Linked DNA regions of Homo sapiens: all the other regions are linked to region 1. The links are contacts of gene promoters, found by promoter capture Hi-C in blood cells and fetal thymus (Javierre and others, 2016). All regions are on one chromosome and are shown on one strand. Each heading gives the region's core, a stretch centred on a gene start or on the middle of the fragment in contact. The rest is flanking DNA. Distances are from core to core; before and after follow the strand shown. Region 1 holds the start of ZNF180 (zinc finger protein 180). Region 2 overlaps ZNF45 (zinc finger protein 45). Region 3 overlaps ZNF221 (zinc finger protein 221). Region 4 overlaps LOC100505715 (a long non-coding RNA gene). Region 5 overlaps ZNF283 (zinc finger protein 283).

The links. The method cuts DNA at HindIII sites, captures the fragments that hold promoters and counts their contacts. A CHiCAGO score of 5 or more calls a contact.
Region 2: a fragment that was not itself captured here is called in contact with the fragment with the promoter of ZNF180 in region 1 in 4 of 17 cell types (total CD8 T cells, M2 macrophages, naive CD4 T cells and 1 more); the score reaches 6.8 in total CD8 T cells.
Region 3: a fragment that was not itself captured here is called in contact with the fragment with the promoter of ZNF180 in region 1 in 2 of 17 cell types (M1 macrophages and M2 macrophages); the score reaches 5.3 in M1 macrophages.
Region 4: a contact is called between a fragment that was not itself captured here and the fragment with the promoter of ZNF180 in region 1, in 1 of 17 cell types (activated CD4 T cells). The highest score is 6.0, in activated CD4 T cells.
Region 5: a fragment that was not itself captured here is called in contact with the fragment with the promoter of ZNF180 in region 1 in 6 of 17 cell types (non-activated CD4 T cells, M1 macrophages, activated CD4 T cells and 3 more); the score reaches 7.7 in non-activated CD4 T cells.

What each region holds. Positions count from the first base shown.
Region 1 is chr19:44,499,223-44,502,788 of GRCh38, forward strand. It overlaps ZNF180 (zinc finger protein 180), which reads right to left and starts at 1,300. Exons shown (of 5, transcript NM_001278509.3): 1 at 1,053-1,300. RefSeq lists enhancers at 570-1,068, 1,056-1,105, 1,069-1,569, 1,116-1,175, 1,186-1,395 and 2 more. The HindIII fragment of the contact is 10,008 bases long and covers 1-2,872 here.
Region 2 is chr19:43,922,484-43,925,996 of GRCh38, forward strand. ZNF45 (zinc finger protein 45) reads right to left here. Exons shown (of 10, transcript NM_003425.4): 4 at 2,842-2,975; 5 at 1,919-2,078; 6 at 1,755-1,827. It overlaps ZNF45-AS1 (ZNF45 antisense RNA 1), which reads left to right. Exons shown (of 3, transcript NR_184050.1): 2 at 2,659-2,771. Among named protein-coding and RNA genes, the nearest start is that of ZNF45, 11 kb to the right of the region's middle. The HindIII fragment of the contact is 2,032 bases long and covers 982-3,013 here.
Region 3 is chr19:43,967,340-43,970,678 of GRCh38, forward strand. ZNF221 (zinc finger protein 221) reads left to right here. Exons shown (of 5, transcript NM_001297588.2): 5 at 1-370. The coding sequence ends at 17. Among named protein-coding and RNA genes, the nearest start is that of ZNF155, 15 kb to the right of the region's middle. The HindIII fragment of the contact is 5,043 bases long and covers 1-3,339 here.
Region 4 is chr19:43,888,363-43,891,845 of GRCh38, forward strand. It overlaps LOC100505715 (a long non-coding RNA gene), which reads right to left. Exons shown (of 3, transcript NR_038334.1): 3 at 3,442-3,483. Among named protein-coding and RNA genes, the nearest start is that of ZNF404, 6.1 kb to the left of the region's middle. The HindIII fragment of the contact is 577 bases long and covers 1,699-2,275 here.
Region 5 is chr19:43,848,942-43,852,211 of GRCh38, forward strand. ZNF283 (zinc finger protein 283) reads left to right here. Exons shown (of 7, transcript NM_181845.2): 7 at 1-3,076. Among named protein-coding and RNA genes, the nearest start is that of ZNF283, 23 kb to the left of the region's middle. The HindIII fragment of the contact is 1,386 bases long and covers 1,006-2,391 here.

The DNA.
Region 1 (3,566 bases), core at 50-2,549:
CTGGGCCCTTTGTCCTTCTCTTGCCCAATCATGACGGCCTGGGTGTTGTGCAGTCAGCTCTTCCCGGGACCAAATCTGCAGCACAGGCTCTGTCCCTCTACTAACCTGCACATTCTCACGCCTGCAAATAGCGTACCCAAGTAAAGGTCTCAGCAACACCTGCTTCATAACGATGCTGGCAACATACTGCTTCCTCCCCAGCTACCAATTTGATGGCAGCTGTTGCAGCTCTGTCCTTCCTGGACTTAAATTCTGTATCTCCAACCCGGAGTCTCTGCCCATCTTGAATGCTCTAGAGCTCTGCACTATCCTACATAGGTCCCTACTATCAGTTCAAGTTTCTGTTTTCCATTCAGACACCCCCAGGACGTGCAGGGGGCCCTCTGCCCAGAACCTGTTTCTAGGCCCTGATACCCTCCTTCAGCCTGGGAGTTTGCTGCCCATGGGTAATTCCCACCAAGGGTTCACTAGCAACACTGCCTCTTCTGGCACAAGAATCTGCAACTCCAATCTGGTCTCTCCACCAACCACAGCGCCCCCAGACCTTGGAGAAGCGCGTTGTCTGCTCTAGGGGCCCAGAGCCACCTGCTCGGAATCTTACCTACAACCTTTTGCTTCCTACCCAAATACCTGATCAAGAGTAAAGGGACAGTGGCACAGCCCCTCCTCTCCAGAAACCACAATCTGCAATGGAGCACTCCATCAACCCGGACATCCTCAGGCCTCCACTAAATAAGCCCGGCATTGGAGGAGGGGAGTTCTCAAGATGTCCCCTTACATCAATGCATGTGCCCTGTGTTCCAGCAACCTGGGCATCCTCAGGCCCCAGACAAGAGCACCACCTGACCAAGCACCCGCGCATGCACGCAGAGGACAGTCGCGGAATATACAGCTGTATCAGTAACTCCATCAACCCCGGTGACCCGAGGCTAAAGCGCCACCCGCACAGATACCAGGTCTCCCCGCTACACTCACCACCGCTTCCAGCTTCCCGCGTAGACCCTGCGCATGCGCGCATCGGACACCAAGCGCTGCCCCACGCCCCTACCAACCTGGGCGTCCGCTGGCCCGCAGCCCAGGCTGGGCCTGTCACCGCCTCAGTGCCTAGCACGGCTCTGCGGCAGGACGAACTCGGGTTAGGCAACCCCCTGCCCCGATTCTGCAACACGGCCGACTCGGGTTAAGCTAGTTCGGTCCCCTCTCCTAGTCAGCATCCGCAAGGCCGCTGGGGGTTAAGTCTGAAGGGCCGAGCTGCTCGGCGACAGCAAGCGTCCGCGCGCGGGACAATGGCTGCTCTTGTGGCCGAACCCGGAAGTGCACTTGGGCTCGGAGAGCCAGAACTACAATTCCCAGAAGCCTCCGCGGCGCGGACGGTCAGTAGGCGGGGTTCCGGCTTCTCCAAGGAAGTGGGGCGGGGGACCGGGCCAGAAGCTAAGAGGGCGTCCTCGTCCGGGGCCCGGGGGGGCGCCACACCTGTGCATGTGCAGGTCTAGGGGGAGCACTAAGACCAGCCGCGGCGCCGGGAGGCCGAGGCCAGTGCAGCGACGCATGGGGAGTCGCTCTGGCGTGACGTCAGAATCCAATAGAAATGGCGGGGACCCTTTCTGGGTGCCCCCTGCCTGTCAGACGCTGCGCGCGACCCCTTGTCTCCTCTAGTCCTAGGGGAAACCTGTGAGACAGTTGCGACATCCCCATTTTACAGTGGAGGGAGCGTCTACCGAACCCTTCAGGAATCTATGTTTTTACATTTAATAATACTAAAATATAATCATTTTATTTTTAAATTTTGAGTTCTTTCTCTGCCTATAAGGCCTGAAGGATCTGTTCCCCCCACCTCTCCCCTTTTCTCTGTTTTTGTTTTGTTTTGTTTTGTTGTTTTGAGACGGAATTTCGCTCTTGTCGCCCAGGCTGGAGGGCAATAGCGCGATCTCGGCTCACTGCAACCTCCACCTCCCGGATTCAAGCGATTCTCCTGCCTCAGCCTCCTGAATAGCTGGGATTACAGGCGCCAGCCACCACGCCCGGCTAATTTTTGTATTTTTAGTAGAGACGGGGTTTCACCACGTTGGCCAGGTTAGTCTCCAACTCCTGACCTCAGGTGATCCGCCCTCGGCCTCCCAAAGTGCTGGGATTACAGGCGTAGTCCCCTTTTCTCTTTGCCCTCATTTCTTGCCCATTTGCTTGGCACATTTTCCCCATTCTCCAACAGATCCAGCAGACTCCAGCCCCTGGTCGTTTGCAGGTGCTCTTTGCACTCCCTAGCAGCCTCTCCTGAGGGATTCATTTGGCTCTCACCGTCTGGTAATTAGGGGAATATCATCTTCTCATGAGGCATTGCCCCACCACCCGTTGTGAACTTGCAAGCAAACGCTTCCCTCCCCACATGCTCTGTGCCTCCCCCTTCATCTTTTATTTTTTTCTCTAAAGAACTTTTCACTATCTAGCACACTATATATTTTAATTATTTATTTGGTCTACTGTCCGACCTACCACTACGATGTCAATTCCATAAGGAAAAGCATTTTATCGATGTTGATCACTGCTGCATCCCCAACACCTAAAAAAAAAAAAAAGAGAGAGACCTGGCACATAATAGATGCTCAATAAATATTCGTTGGCTAAATAAAGGTTCCTGTCTCTGTATTAAACACTTTAATATTTCATTACCAAGCCCAATCAGCCTATGAGGTAGTTGTGTTAATTTTCATCCTACCAGGGAGGTAGCTGAAAATTGGAGCCCTGCTGTATGAAAATACATAATTTTTTAGTTTTTAAAATGCTTGTCAAAGCACTCCTGTAGTTTTCTTCACGTAAATTCTGACCTTTAAAAACAATGAATTATTACTATTTGAAATGTAATCTCTATCCCCAAAGCTTCTTATTATTGGTTATTGTGGTTGATCTTTTAAAAAATACTTATTTTGTATCTGGTTAACCTACTGCAATGTTATTAATTCTTACAATACTCCAGTTGACTCTCTTGGCTTTTCTATTGAGACAGTTATCTACAATTTCATCTTTTCCTTACCAGTATTTTAAATTAGACATTCTCTTTCATGTTGGATTATATTGGCTACCATTTCCAAAAAAGTATTACTAAAAGAGGCATTCTTGTTTGTGTTCTTTTAATGGACATATCTCTGAAGTTTGAGGGTTAAATGTGACATCGGTTTCTACATTGAAGTAAGTAGCTTATTTTTTTAACCTTTTATTTTGTAAATTTCAAAACAAAAGTAGGGACTCAATTAATGACTCCCCAAGACCTATGTCATCCAACTTAAATATTTTCACTCAGTCTTGTTTCATCTGTATTTCCACCTATGTTGTGCATTTGAGACCAAGATGTTGAACTCTAGAGTCCATGCTCTTAACTTTTACATTATGTTGCCGCTTGTCTACACATCAGTATCTTTCCTCTACGTGCAAGCAATACTAAGTTTGCAAACAAAACAGAAAAAGTTCGTATGTATTCACAAAAAAGCAAAAAAAAAAAGCCTTATAAGTAAATTTAGTAAGATAAATATGTCATCTGAAGAAACCCTCAAAACCTTACTGAGAGAGAAAAA
Region 2 (3,513 bases), core at 748-3,247, 580 kb before region 1:
AGGGTATGACTGATTCTAGGGAGAGTAGAAATTGAGAGTAAAATACCCAGATTAAGAGTATTTGGCCCCTCTGGAGCCAAATGCCTAGATTTATGGCATTGCTATTTATTCGCTATGAAATCCAGGACAAATTATTAATATCTCTGTGCCTCAGTTCTTTCATCCATAAAATGAAGAGATTAACAATGAGAGAATTAACAATCTCATAGGATTGTTTACAAATTAAATGAGGGAAAAAGCTCAAAGAATATTTTCAGAGTACCTTATTTCTTAGCTGCAGAAAAGCACATAACATAAAACCTGTGCTCATTAATGGTTTCTACCAATAAATTCTTTGTTTTTTTTTTTTTTTTTTTTTTTGAGAGAGGGTCTTGCTCTGCTGCCCAGGCTGGAGTGCAGTGGCACAATCATGACTCACTAAAGCCTTGACCTCCTGGGCTCAAGCGATCCTCCCACCTCAGCCTCCCAAGTAGCTGGGACCACAGGTGTGCACCACAATGTCCAGCTAATTTTTTTACTTTTTGTAGAGACGAGGTCATGCTATGTTGCCCGAGCCAGTCTCAAACTCCTGAGCTCAAGTGATCCTCCTGCCTCAGCCTCCCAAAGTGCTGGGATTACAGGTGTGAGCCACCACACTCAGCTGATGAATTCTTTAGTAGAGGTTTTTTAACCTCTACTTTAACCTCGCCTTTAACCTCTGAAATACCTGTTATTCTCTCTTGGTTTCCCATACTTAATTTGAGGCTTTTGCAATAGTATTTAAGATTACAGTGGTCCTTCCTATCCATAGTTTTGCTTTCTGTGGTTTCAGTTACCTGAAGTCAACTATGGCCCAAAAATAGGTGAGTACAGTGCAGTAAGATATTCTGAGAGAGAGAGAGAGACCATGTTTATAGAACTTTTGTTACAGTATTTTATCATTATTCTATTTTATTATAAGTTATTGTTGTTAGTCTCTTACTGTGCCTAATTTATAAATTAAGCTTTATCATAAGTATGTAGGTAAAGGAAAAACATAGTATATTTAGGGTTCAGTAATATCTGAGGTTTAAGTCATTCACTGGGGGACTTGGAAGGTATCTGCTGTGGATAAGGGGGGACTACTGTACATAGATGACTGCTTTTTTTGATAGTAAAATATGTAACATAAAATTTACCATTTTAACCATTTTTTAAGTGGTTACATTCAGTAAGTACATTTACATTGTTGTGCAGCCATCACCACTATCCATCATCAGAATTTTTTATGTACCCATTAAGTAATAATTCCCCATTCCCCCTCCCAGCCCCTGATAACCACGTTATCTCTATGAATTTGACTATATGGACTGGTTTCTAAAAGGTATAAGACCTTGCAAAATTTGGCTGTGTAGAGTGGCTCATGCCTGTAATCCTAGCACTCTGGGAGGCCAAAGTGGGAGGACTGCTTGAGGCCAAGAGTTCAAGACCAACCTGGCCAACAGAGTGATCTCTAAAGAGAAAAAAAAAAAATCTAAAAAAAAAAAAAAAGACCTTGCAAAATTTACTTTAACAGTAGGGCCTTAAAAAGACTATCATAGAGACAGAGAAAATTTAATAAAAAATCATGACTCTGCAAGATTTATGCAACTATAAATTAGATAATGTCACTGAAATTAACAAGCTATAGGAAGCACAATAATAACAACAAAAATGGTGATATTTAACTAAATACATATTAGGGACCTTATGAAGAACTTGGCACATGATGTTTCATTAAGGTACTTCACACATACCTGTGAAGAAGCTACTGTTGTATCAGTTGTGTGACCTTGGTCCAAACACCTAAACTTCTGTGCCTATGCTCAGCTATAAGAAGGGAAATGAAAACAGGATGTTAATCATAGGATTACTGTGAGGAATCAATGAGTGAATTTATGCAATGCCCTTGGCATAGTACCTGGCATTTTAGGGAGTTCTCAACAGATGATAATGACGACAATTGTATCCATTTAACAGGCGAGGAAGCTGAGGCTTGGTGAGGTCAAGAGGCAGGAACAGTACCTGAATCCAGCTTTCATACCAGAGCCAGTATTCTAAATCTTGTCTCTCTGTTGCTTCTAAAGACAAAAATAAGCAGATGGGAGTCTAAGATCTCATGGAAGGAGAAATGAGGGCTCCAGAGTTAGGGGTAAAAGACAGACACAGAAATGGAGATTGGACTCTGAAGCCAAGGGAGCTGCTTGAGGGAGTAGAGAACAGAGTTGTGAACAGTCTAGACTCCAGAACCAGCCCACCAGTACTGGAATACAGGCATGTCCAACTTGCTAGTACTTTGTGCTCTAATGTCTAATCTATAAACTGGATGTAATAATAATACCTACTTCATAGGAAGGTCAGTGAAAGTGACTAAGTATACACAAAACATGTGGAACAGTTTCTGGCAGCTTAAACAATCAATAGAAGTTACACATAAACCCATGCAGATGCTTTACATGAAACAGTCAGGGAGCCCCTCCCTTGCTGCTGTGGACCAATGTCTGTGTCCCCTCAAAATTCTTATGTTGAAGCCCTAATGTGATGTTATTGGGAGGTGGGGCCTTTAGGAGGTAATTAGGTCATGAGGGTGAAGCCTCCATAATGGGATTGCTTTCCTTGTAAGAAAAGCAAGTAACCTAGCTCTTTCTCTCTTCCTCCCAGGAAGATACAAGACAACAGCTTCTGCGAACCAGTAAGAGTGGCCTCATTAGACATTGGATTTGCCAGTGACTTGATCATGGACTTCCCAGTCTCCAGGACTGTGAGTTATAAAGGTTTGTTGTTTAAGCCACCCAGCCTATGGTATTGTTTGTTATAGCAGCACAAATGGACTAAGGCACTCACGGAGTCTGCAGCTTCACATGGCTTGATGATGGGGAAACATGGGCTGGATTCCAGATTCCACTTGACCCTTCAGCAGAGAGCCTCTGCACAGTGAAAAATGGAGTTCTTGTAGCTCTCAGGGTATGATTCTGATTCTATGGAGGGTGGAAACGAGTAAAATACCCAGATTAAAAGCTTAGTATTAGTTAATTACTGCTTGATTTATTAGTAAATTATTCTTAGTTCTCTTACTTCAGATAGAAGAACCCTTACTATTGAAAAGGGAAACATAAAACCTTCCAATCTTAGAAGAAATACTTATTTATTTATTTTTCTGAAATGGAGTCTTGCGCTGTGGCCCAGGCTGGAGTGCAGTGGAATGATCTCAGCTTACTGCAACCTCAGCCTTCCGGGTTCAAAAGATTATCCTGCCTCAGCCTCCCCAGTAGCTGGATTATGGGCACCCGCCACCATTCCTGGCTAATTTTTTTTGTTTCTTTTGTTTTTTTAGTACAGATGAGGTTTCACTATTTTGGCCAGGCTGGTCTCGACCTCCTGACCTCAAGTGATCCACCCGCCTTGGCCTCCCAAAGTGCTGGGATTATAGGCGTAAGCCACCACACCCAGCCTGAAATACTCTTTTAGAATTTGTAATTCACTTTGTTCTAACTCTATATTTGCCCAGCAACCTCT
Region 3 (3,339 bases), core at 50-2,549, 530 kb before region 1:
GGAGAAAAGCCATATAAATGTGAGAAGTGTGGGAAGGGCTTTGGCTGGGCCTCAACTCATCTGACCCATCAATTCTCCACAGCAGAGAAAAACCATTCAAATATGAGAACTGTGGGAAGAGCTTTGTACATAGATCATATCTTTTTTTTTTTTTTTTGAGACAGAGTCTCACTCTTTCACCCAGGCCTGACTGCAGTGGCGCTATCTCAGCTCACTGCAAGCTCCGCCTCCCAGGTTCACGCCATTCTCCTGCCTCAGCCTCCCGAGTAGCTGGGACTACAGGTGCCCGCCACCACACCCAGCTAATTTTTTGTATTTTTAGTAGAGACGGGGTTTCACCGTGTTAGCCAGGATGGTCTCGATCTCCTGACCTCGTGATCCGCCCGCCTTGGCCTCCCAAAGTGCTGGGATTACAGGCGTGAGCCACTGCGCCCGGCCATAGATCACATCTTAAAGACCAAGAAAAGAGTCCACAGTGGAGATAATCCATACAAATGTGAGGAGCATGGGATGTACTACAACAGGCACTTGACTTGATATGCATCAGAGGGTCCATATGGCAGAGAAACCGTGGAAGTTTGGGGAGATTGCCATGTGCTTCAGTTATGCCTCAAAGTCTTCAACTTCATTGGACTGTTCACTTTCAAGGGAAACCTTAGTAAGGTGATATCTGTGATAGTCTTCTCAACTACAAGCTCATCTGAGAGTTCACAATGGGAGAAGCATTAAAAATTTGATACATGTGGTAAGCACTTCAGTTTGAGTTCATATCTCATAGCTTATTACAGAATCCATGCTGATGATACATTTCATACAGTCTCAGGAGGGAAAATATTTAAGTTAAAGTCAGAGTTTCAGCCATAGTTCAGCATACCCACGTGGTTTTAGAACCACTGTAGCACAGAACCTTTGTAATTTGGGGCTTCATTCAGAAGTTTGGCAATTATAGTTATTCAAGAGACAGGCCTTAGAAAGAATAGGAGTTTGTTCAGGCATTTACAAATCTCTAATGATGGACATGTCAAAATTGATGTCGGCTAGAATATAAGCTGCATTTACCTTTGCTGCAGAATCTTCACAACCTTAACACTGATTGGCACTTTGTATGTGTGTTTGGTACATGTAAGAGATGTAGAAAGAGCTTTGGCTGGGCTTCATATCTTTTGAAATATCAGAGATGTGATATTAAAGGATCAAAAGGAGAAAACATATTTCAAAATTGTATCTAAAAGAGGAAACCTGGGATAGACCAAGATGGCCAATTAGAAGCAGCTATGGTTCATGGTACTCATACAGAGGAATGAAAATGACAGATAAATTCAGCACCTTCAATTGAAATATCTAGGTTCTCTCATTGGGACTGACTAGGCAATCAATTCAACCCACAGAAAATGAAGAAAAGTAGGGTGGAGTTATGGCCCACTTGGTGTGGCATGGAGCCAAAGGAAACCTCACCCCCACCCAAGGGAAGCAGTGAGTGATTGTGCGACCCTGCGCAGGAAACCATGCTACTCAAGGATCTTTGCAACCCACGGGTCAGGAGATCTCCTTGTGAGCCCATGCCACCAGGGCCTTGGGTTTGATACACAGAGCTGTGTGGAGTTTTGGCAGAGCGGCCTCTCAGGCACACACAGAGACCCAGGAGGTTTACATGCTCTAGCCCCAGAATTCCTGGCAAGGTGGCAGATTCATCCTTATATTCCCCTAGGAAGGGGGCTGAATCCAGGGAGCCAGGCAGCAACATTCTGTGGGCCCCACTTCCATGGCACCTTACAAAACCCACTGGCTTGGAATTTCAACCAACCAACAGCAACAGGCTTCAGCCTGAAATAGGAGGGAGCTCCTGTGGGGGAAGGCTGGCCACCATTTCTGTGGTTCAGTCTACTCAGCATTCCAGCCTGCCAGCTCTGGAGAGACCAGGTTGTCTGGACAAGGAGAGGATCCCCCTGCCCAACACAGAACACCTGCTTTGCCAGATCATGCCCAGACTGCTGCTTTTTTTTTTTTTTTTTTTTTTTTTTTTTTTTGAGATGGAGTCTCACTCTGTTGCTCAGACTGGAGTGCAGTGGCATGCTCTTGGTTCATGGCAACCTCCACCTCTTGGGTTCAAGCAATTCTCCTGCCTCAGCCTCCCAAGTAGCTGGGATTACAGGCAGGTACCACCACACCTGGCTAATTTTTGTATTTTTCATAGAGACAGGGTTTCACCGTGTTGGCCAGGCTGGTCTTGAACTCCTGACCGCAGGTGATCCGCCTGCCTCAGCCTTCCAAAGTGCTGGGATTACAGGCATGAGCCACTGCACCTGGCCCAGACTGCTTCTTTAAGCAGGACCCTGATCCATTCCTCCCCACTGTGTGGGGTCTCCCTGTGGGGGGTCTTCAGTCACTCCAGCCAGGCTTATACTGACAGAAATCTAATCTCTACCTCAGATGGAGCTCCCAGGGGAGTGGCGACCACTGTCTCTATGGTTCGGTTGACAAAGCTGTTCCAGCCTGCTGGCTTTGGAGAGTCTGGGCAATCTGGGTGAGGAAGGGTCCTCCCCCACCGCAGCACACCTGCTGTACCAAAAGCAGTTGGACTGCTTCTGTAAGTAGGTCCCTGATCCTGTTCCTCCTGACTCAGTGAGACCTCCCAACAGGAGTCTCTAGACACCTCCTACAGGAGTCTTCAGGCCAGAAACTGGTCAGTATCCCCCTGGGACAGAGTTTCCAAAAGAAGGAGAAGGCTGCCATCTTTGCTGTTTTGCAGCTTTCACTGGTGACACCTCCAGGTACGGGAAAAACGGAGGCAACTAGGGTCTCGAGCAGACCCCAGCAAACTGTGGCAGCCCTACAGTTGCTAACAGTCAGTGGCTTGACTGTTAAAAACAGGCAGAAAACAACAAGAACATCAACAAAAAGACCCCACAAAAACCCCATTCAAGGGTCAGCAACCTCAAGATTGAAGGTAGGTAAGCCCACAGATATGATAAAAAGTCAACACAAAAAAATGCTGAAAACTCAAAAAGCCAGAGCGCCTCTTCTCCAAATGACTACAGCACCTCTCTAGCAAGGGTACAGAACTGGGCTGAGGCTGAGATGGCTGAACTGACAGAAGTAGGCCTCAGAAAGTGGGTAATGAACTTTGCTGAGCTAAAGGAGCATGGCATAACCCAATGCAAAGAAGCTAAGAATCATGATAAAACAATACAGGAGCTGATGACCAGAATAGCCAGTTTAGAGAGGAACATAACTGACTTGATGGAGCTGAAAAACACAACACAAGAACTTAACAATGCAATCACAAGTATCAATTGTAGAATAGACCAAGAGGAGGAAAGAGACTCAGAGCTTGAAGAC
Region 4 (3,483 bases), core at 737-3,236, 610 kb before region 1:
AAACATTAGCTGGGCATGGTGGTACGCACCTGTAGTCCCAGCTACTCGCTCGGCAGGCTGAGGCAGAAGAAGCGCTTGAACCCAGGAGGCAGAGGTTGCAGTGAGCCGAGATCGCTCCACTGCACTCCAGCCTGGGTGACAGAGCGAGACTCTGTCTCAAAAAAAAAAAGGCAATAATGAAGTTTGCCACATCAATTGACTCTTCCTTTCACAAGAGATTTCTCTGTAGCATGTGATGCTGTTTGATAGCATTTTACCCACAGGGGATCTTTTTTCAAAATTGGGGTCAATCTTTTCCAACCCTGGTGCTGCTTTATCAACTAAGCTTGTGTACTATTCAAAATTGTTTGTTTTTATTTCAACAACATTCACAGCATTTTCACCAGGAGTAGATTCCATCTCAAGAAACCACTTTAATTGCTCATCTGTAAGAAGCAGCTCCTCATCCATTAAAGTTTTATCATGAGATTGCAGAAATTCAGCCACATCTTCAGGCTCCATGTCTAATTCTAGTTCTCTTGCTATTTTTGCCACATCTGCAGTTACTTCCTCTACTCAAGTCTTGAACCCCTCAAAGTTATCTGTGAGGGTTGGAATCAACTTCTTCCAAACTCCTGTTAAACATTTTGACCTCCTTCTATGAATCAGGAGTGTTCTTAATGGCATCTAGAATGTTAAATCCATTCCAGAAGCTTTTCAATTCACTTTGCCTAGATCCATTAGAGAAATCACAATCTATGGCAGCTAGAGTTTTATGAAATGTATTTCTTAAAAAATGAAACTTGAAAGTTGAAATTATTCCTTGATCCATGGGCTGCAGGGTGGATGTTGTGTTAGTAGGCATGAAAGCAAAATTAATCTTTTCCATACATCCCCAACAGAGCTCCTGGATGACCAGGTGGAACGTCAATCGGCAGTAATATTTTGAAAGGAGTCTTTTTTTTCCTTTCTGAGCATTGGGTCTCAACAGTGGGTTTAAAATATTGAGTAAGCCATGCCATAAACAGATGTGCTGTCATTCAGGCTTTGTTGTCCCATTTCTAGAGCACAGGCAGAGTAGATTTAGCACAATTCTTAAGGGCGCTAGAATTTTCAGAATAGTGAATGAGTATCACCTTCAACTTATAGTCACCAGCTGCATTAGCCTCTAATAAGAGAGTCAGCCTGTCCTTTGAAGCCAGGCATTGACTTCTCTCTAGCTATGAAAGTCCTAGATGGTATCTTCTTCCAACAGAAGACTGTTTTGTCTACATGGAAAATCTTTTGTTTAATGTAGCCACCTTCATCAATAATCTTAGCTAGATCTTCTGGACAACTGGCTGCAGCGTATATATCAGCATTTGCTGCTTCACCTTGCACTGTTATGTTATGGAGATGACTTTTTTCCTTAAACCTCATGAACCAACCTCTGCTAGCATCCAACCTTTCTTCTGTAGCTTCCTCATGTCTCTCAGACTTCACAAAATTGAAGACAGTTAGGTCTTTGCTCTGGCTTTGGCTTAAGGGAATTTTGTGGCTGGCTTGATCTTCTATGTGGACCACTAATCTTTCTCTGTATTGCAGTATCTCCATATGACTCGAGAAGCACTTTTCATTTCCTTCAAGAACTTTTCCTTTGCATTCACAACTAGGCTAACTGTTTGGCACAAGAGGTCAAGCTTTTGGCCCGTCTTGGCTTTTGACATGCCTTCCTCACTAAGCTTAATCACTTCTAGCTTTTGATTAAAAGTGAGAAACAGAGGACTCTTCCTTTCATTTGAACACTTAGAGGCTATTGTAGGGCTACTAACTGGCCTGATTTCAATATTGTTGTGTTTCAGGAAAACAAAGAGAGGAAGAGAGACAGGAATAGCTGGTCGGTGGAGCAGTCAGAAGACACATAACATATATTCATTCAGTTCACCGTCTTATATGGGTGTGGCTCACGGTGTCCCAAAGCAATTACAACAGTAACACCAAGGACCCTGATCACAGATCACCATAAAAATAATGGAAAAGTTTTAAATATTGCTAGAATTACAAAATGTGACAAAGAGACACAGAATGAGCACATGCTGTTGAAAAACAGAGACAATATACTTGCTGAATGCAGGGTTACCACAAATCTCAATTTGTAAAAATTGCAATATTTGCAAAGTGCAATAAAGCAACATGCAATAAAATGAGATGTGCCTGTGTAAAAGGCATACTTCTAAATAGTTACTGGTCAAATAATAAATCAATGGAAGCTAGAAAATATTTTGAGTTAAATGATAGTGAAAGTAAGATATATCAAAGCTTGTGAGACGCAGGTAAACCAATGCTTATGAAGATATAAGCTTTAAATATATGTTTTGTCAAAACAGAAAGGTTGAAAATCAGTGATATACATCAAGAAGCTTGAAAAGGAAAAGCAAATTAAACCTATAGAAAGTATAACATACCAAAAGTAACCAATAACACAAAAAACCCCAGATATACAATAAAGAAAAATCAATAAAGCCAAAGCTATTTCATTGAAGAGATTAATAAGAATAATAAACTTCTAGTTACACTGATCAAGAAAAAATTGCCAATATCAGGAATATAAAAGAAGATAACACTACCTATTTTACTACATACATTAAAATCAGAATTGTATGAACAACTTTATAACTTTCTAATAAACTTGAAAATGTAGATGAAATTTTAAAATTCCTTGAAAACACAATTTGAACTGATATAAGAAATTGAAAATCTAAATATTGTTTTATTTATTAAAGAAATTAAATCTGTATTAAGGATCTTCTCACAAAAATAATGTCAGGCCAAGAGGATTCAGTAGCAAATTCTCCCAAACATTTAAGAAATTAAAAATGCCAATCAAACTCAACTTGTTCTAGAAAATAGAAAAAAACAAACTATGTCATAAGGCCAGAATAACTGTGATATCAAAACCAGATGAGGATATTACATAAAAGGAAAATTACAATATATCTGTTTCATGAACACAGACGCAAGCATATTAAACCAAATATTAGCAAAGAGAAACCAGTAACATATTGACCAAGAGAGCTTTATTTTAGAAATTCAAAGGCCATTTAATTTAATTTTTTACCATAACCTCAAACAAGTATAAGTTTAATTTTTAAAAAATCAATGTAATCTTTCAATGTTAACTAATAAAGGAGAAAACCATTCAATTATTTCATTAGAAATAATCCATTTAACAATATACAACATTAATCATGATAAAAATTCTCAGCAAACCAGGACTAGAGGGGAACTTCTTTCATCTGATAAAGGGGACCTAAAGAATAAAAACTACAACTACCATTGTACATAAAGGGATCATTATACATAATATGGACCACTGTCTTTCTGATTTCAGGAACAAGGTAAGGTTGTCTACTCTTACATGTCTTTTCAATTTTGTAGTAGAAGACCTATCCAATATTATAAGGAAAAAATAAAAGGTGTAAATGGAAGGAAGTAAAATGATCTTTATTTGCAGATAGTGTAGAT
Region 5 (3,270 bases), core at 449-2,948, 650 kb before region 1:
CATCAAATAATTGGTATTTGTTAAAAAGAGTTTAAATAGGAGGAATGTGGGAAGGACCTAAACTTAATTCAGTTCTTGCTGCACATCAGAGAATTCATACTGCTGTGTAATCCTATGCACATAAGGAATTTGGGAAGGCTTATAGACACAGTAAATATCTTAGAGTACATCAGAGAATTCATCCAAATGAGAAATCATTTGAATTAGAATTATAGGAAGGCCTTTAGACAAATGCTACCCAAATTATTATCCAGAGACTGGTGCAGTCATAAAATTGTCATCTGTCAATTGTGAGATAAACGTGGAAAGTGAGTAAATATTTGGAACTTTTATAGCAATTTGACATTTCCATAACATTCTGTTTTACAAAATTATCAGTCCATAAATGATTGAGAATTGAAAACAAAGTTTGTTCTTTCCCAGAAATAATTTGAGACAAGACTCACACTTTTCAAGACATGAGACAAGTGACAATTTAAATAAGAAATTCTTCACTTGCACCTCTCTGATTAGAATAGCAGAATATTCATACTATAGCAAGATTTGGCAAATGAGGGAATCAAAATTTTCTAATGCCTGTAACAGCATAAGATAATTTATACCAGATATGTTAAATGTGCAGAAGCCTTCCAACACTATTCAGTCTTTGTTAAACTTCAGTAAGTTCATCCTAGAGAGTAACTCTGTTAATGTAACAAATGTAGGAAAACCCTTATCCATGGCAAATACCATACTGTCATCACCATTTCACCTCCATACTACCTGTAGGATGGTGAGCAAAATGCTTATCTCTTCTGGACATGATGTTTCAAATGCTGATGGTAACTAATAATGCTGTTACAGAGATTAGATGGATTTAGTATGCATCATATCCTTGGAAGAGTATCTGGTATGTAGCCTATGCTTAATACATATTAGCTATTGTTCATATTGTCTTTATTATTAGTATTACTACTGGTGAATTCTTAGGAGAGGCACAACCGTTTTGAGGAATGAATTCAGAAAAGCTTCCCATAACCACTCATCCATTTGAATTTCAGATAGTTCATTCTGGATAAGATCTAGTACAGTATAAAGAATTTGAGGGGATTTTAATTCAGAGTTTATCCCTTAAGCTGAGCTAAAAAAATGAGACTTGAAAAAATCCAGACTTTTGAAGAGTTTAGGAAAGCTGTTTTATAGAATGTCACACATTAGTTTCATTCCTCATGGTGAAATTTGATATGGGCCTCTCCTTCACATTTCTCGTAACATGAAGTTGGAAATAGAGGCTTAAACATTTTTTACCAGAACACTTCATAGATGGTGATGTGTACTTCATCTTGCAATACCTCAGAAGCAGATAGTATCCATTTCCCCCAGTATCACCAGTGCCAAGTTTGATCACTTATGGTAACTACTGGAGTTGTCTGTTATAAAGATCCATTATATACCTAATAGGATTGGTCAGCCTTGATCAATGATCTTTGGAAATGTGTGATCATATGGTATGTATTTTACTTTTTTTTTTTTTTGGGACAGGATCTCTCTTTCTGTCACCAAGGCTGGAGTGCAGTGGTGTGATTTCGGCTCACTGCAACCTGCACCTCTCGGGTTCAAGTGATTCTCGTGCCTCAGCCTCCCAAGTAGCTGGATACACAGGTGTGCACCACCATACTGGCTAATTCTTGTATTTTTAGTAGAGATGGGGTTTTGCCATGTTGGTCCAGGCTGATCTTGAACTCCTGCACCTGCCTCAGCCTCCCAAAGTGTTGGGATTACAGGTGTGAGACACTGCGCCTGGCTATATTTTACTATTTGGAAATCACAATGCATCTTAAAATTGATGGCTTCTTGCAACCACTTTCAACCAGGTGCCTGTCATGATTTAGTGCTAGCATCAAGGCAGGTTAGTTATGAAGAAATAGAGTGTGTGTTTATATACTCACACAGTTAGAAATCGACCCTTTTAAAAATTATTTCTTTTTGAAAATAATGTCAGTTCCATCAGAACTAATGCATTGATAACTAAATGTCTGTGGTTCCTTGTCATAGGTCTACACCTGACCTCTCTATTTTGTGCACATAGGGGATTCGTAATATCACTGTTCAGTCAGTCATTCACCATCTAGTGATCATCATTCTACATGATTGCACTTTTTCAAAGGCATAAAAAGCCAACAGTTGCACTCTTAATAATCAACTGTAACACAAAGCAGAGTACTTTGGGAGTTTTAACAGGATATATTATTGGTAACTGGCTATTATGCCACTCCCTCTGGGTGCCACATTTGCCTGTTAACCAAGAAATGTAGACATGGTGCCTTATCCCAACATTTCTGAAATTATATCTCAAGGAATCACCAGTGCTTACTAGTACTTGACAATGAAGGAGGATTTTACAGTTAAAGAAGCTTATAAAGTAGCATCTACTAAATCCCCTCCTAAGGAACAAGCAAAAGCACCTCACCAGCTTATCAAAAGACTAAAGAGAAGTGAAAAAAAAAAAAAGACGGCCGGGCGCGGTGGCTCATGCCTGTAATCCCAGAACTTTGGGAAGCCGAGGCGGGCGGATCACGAGGTCAGGAGATCAAGACCATCCTGGCTAACACGGTGAAACCCCGTCTCTACTAAAAATAGAAAAAATTAGCCGGGCGTGGTGGCGGGCGCCTGTGGTCCCAGCTACTCGGGGAGGCTGAGGCAGGAGAATGGCGTGAACCCGGGAGGCAGAGCTTGCAGTGAGCCGAGATTGCGCCACTGCACTCCAGCCTGGGCGACAGAGCGAGACTCCGTCTCAAAAAAATAAAAATAAAAAAAGACTAAGGAGTATTCTAGTGAAGAAAATGGTTGAACTTTGTTTAAACTGGTGTATGGCAAACTTCACTGTTGAAATACTTATTCCCATGACCTATTATCTTTGTAGGTGGGTGAAATTGCATTGGGAACTGCTGCTATAACCAAAAGAGAATTTCAGTCACCATGTCTGGTTGTTAGCTATGATGGAATGGCAGCATCATGGTCTCAGTTATGAGTGAAAATCTTTGTTGTAGCTAAGTAGTGGTGCCTCCTGAGTTTTATTAAATGCCGTTTCACTATCTTTTTCTGCACTTCTATAGTATTTAATTTGTTCATGTGATAATTTATTCTGATAGATTCACTGACTTTTTCCCATTCCTGGATATTCCAGGTTAGTCATAGTATCCTTCTGATGCATTGCTTGATTTCATTTTGCCATTTTATTTAGTATTTTTGCATCTCATGAGTGAGATTATATAATAGTTTTCTTTTTTA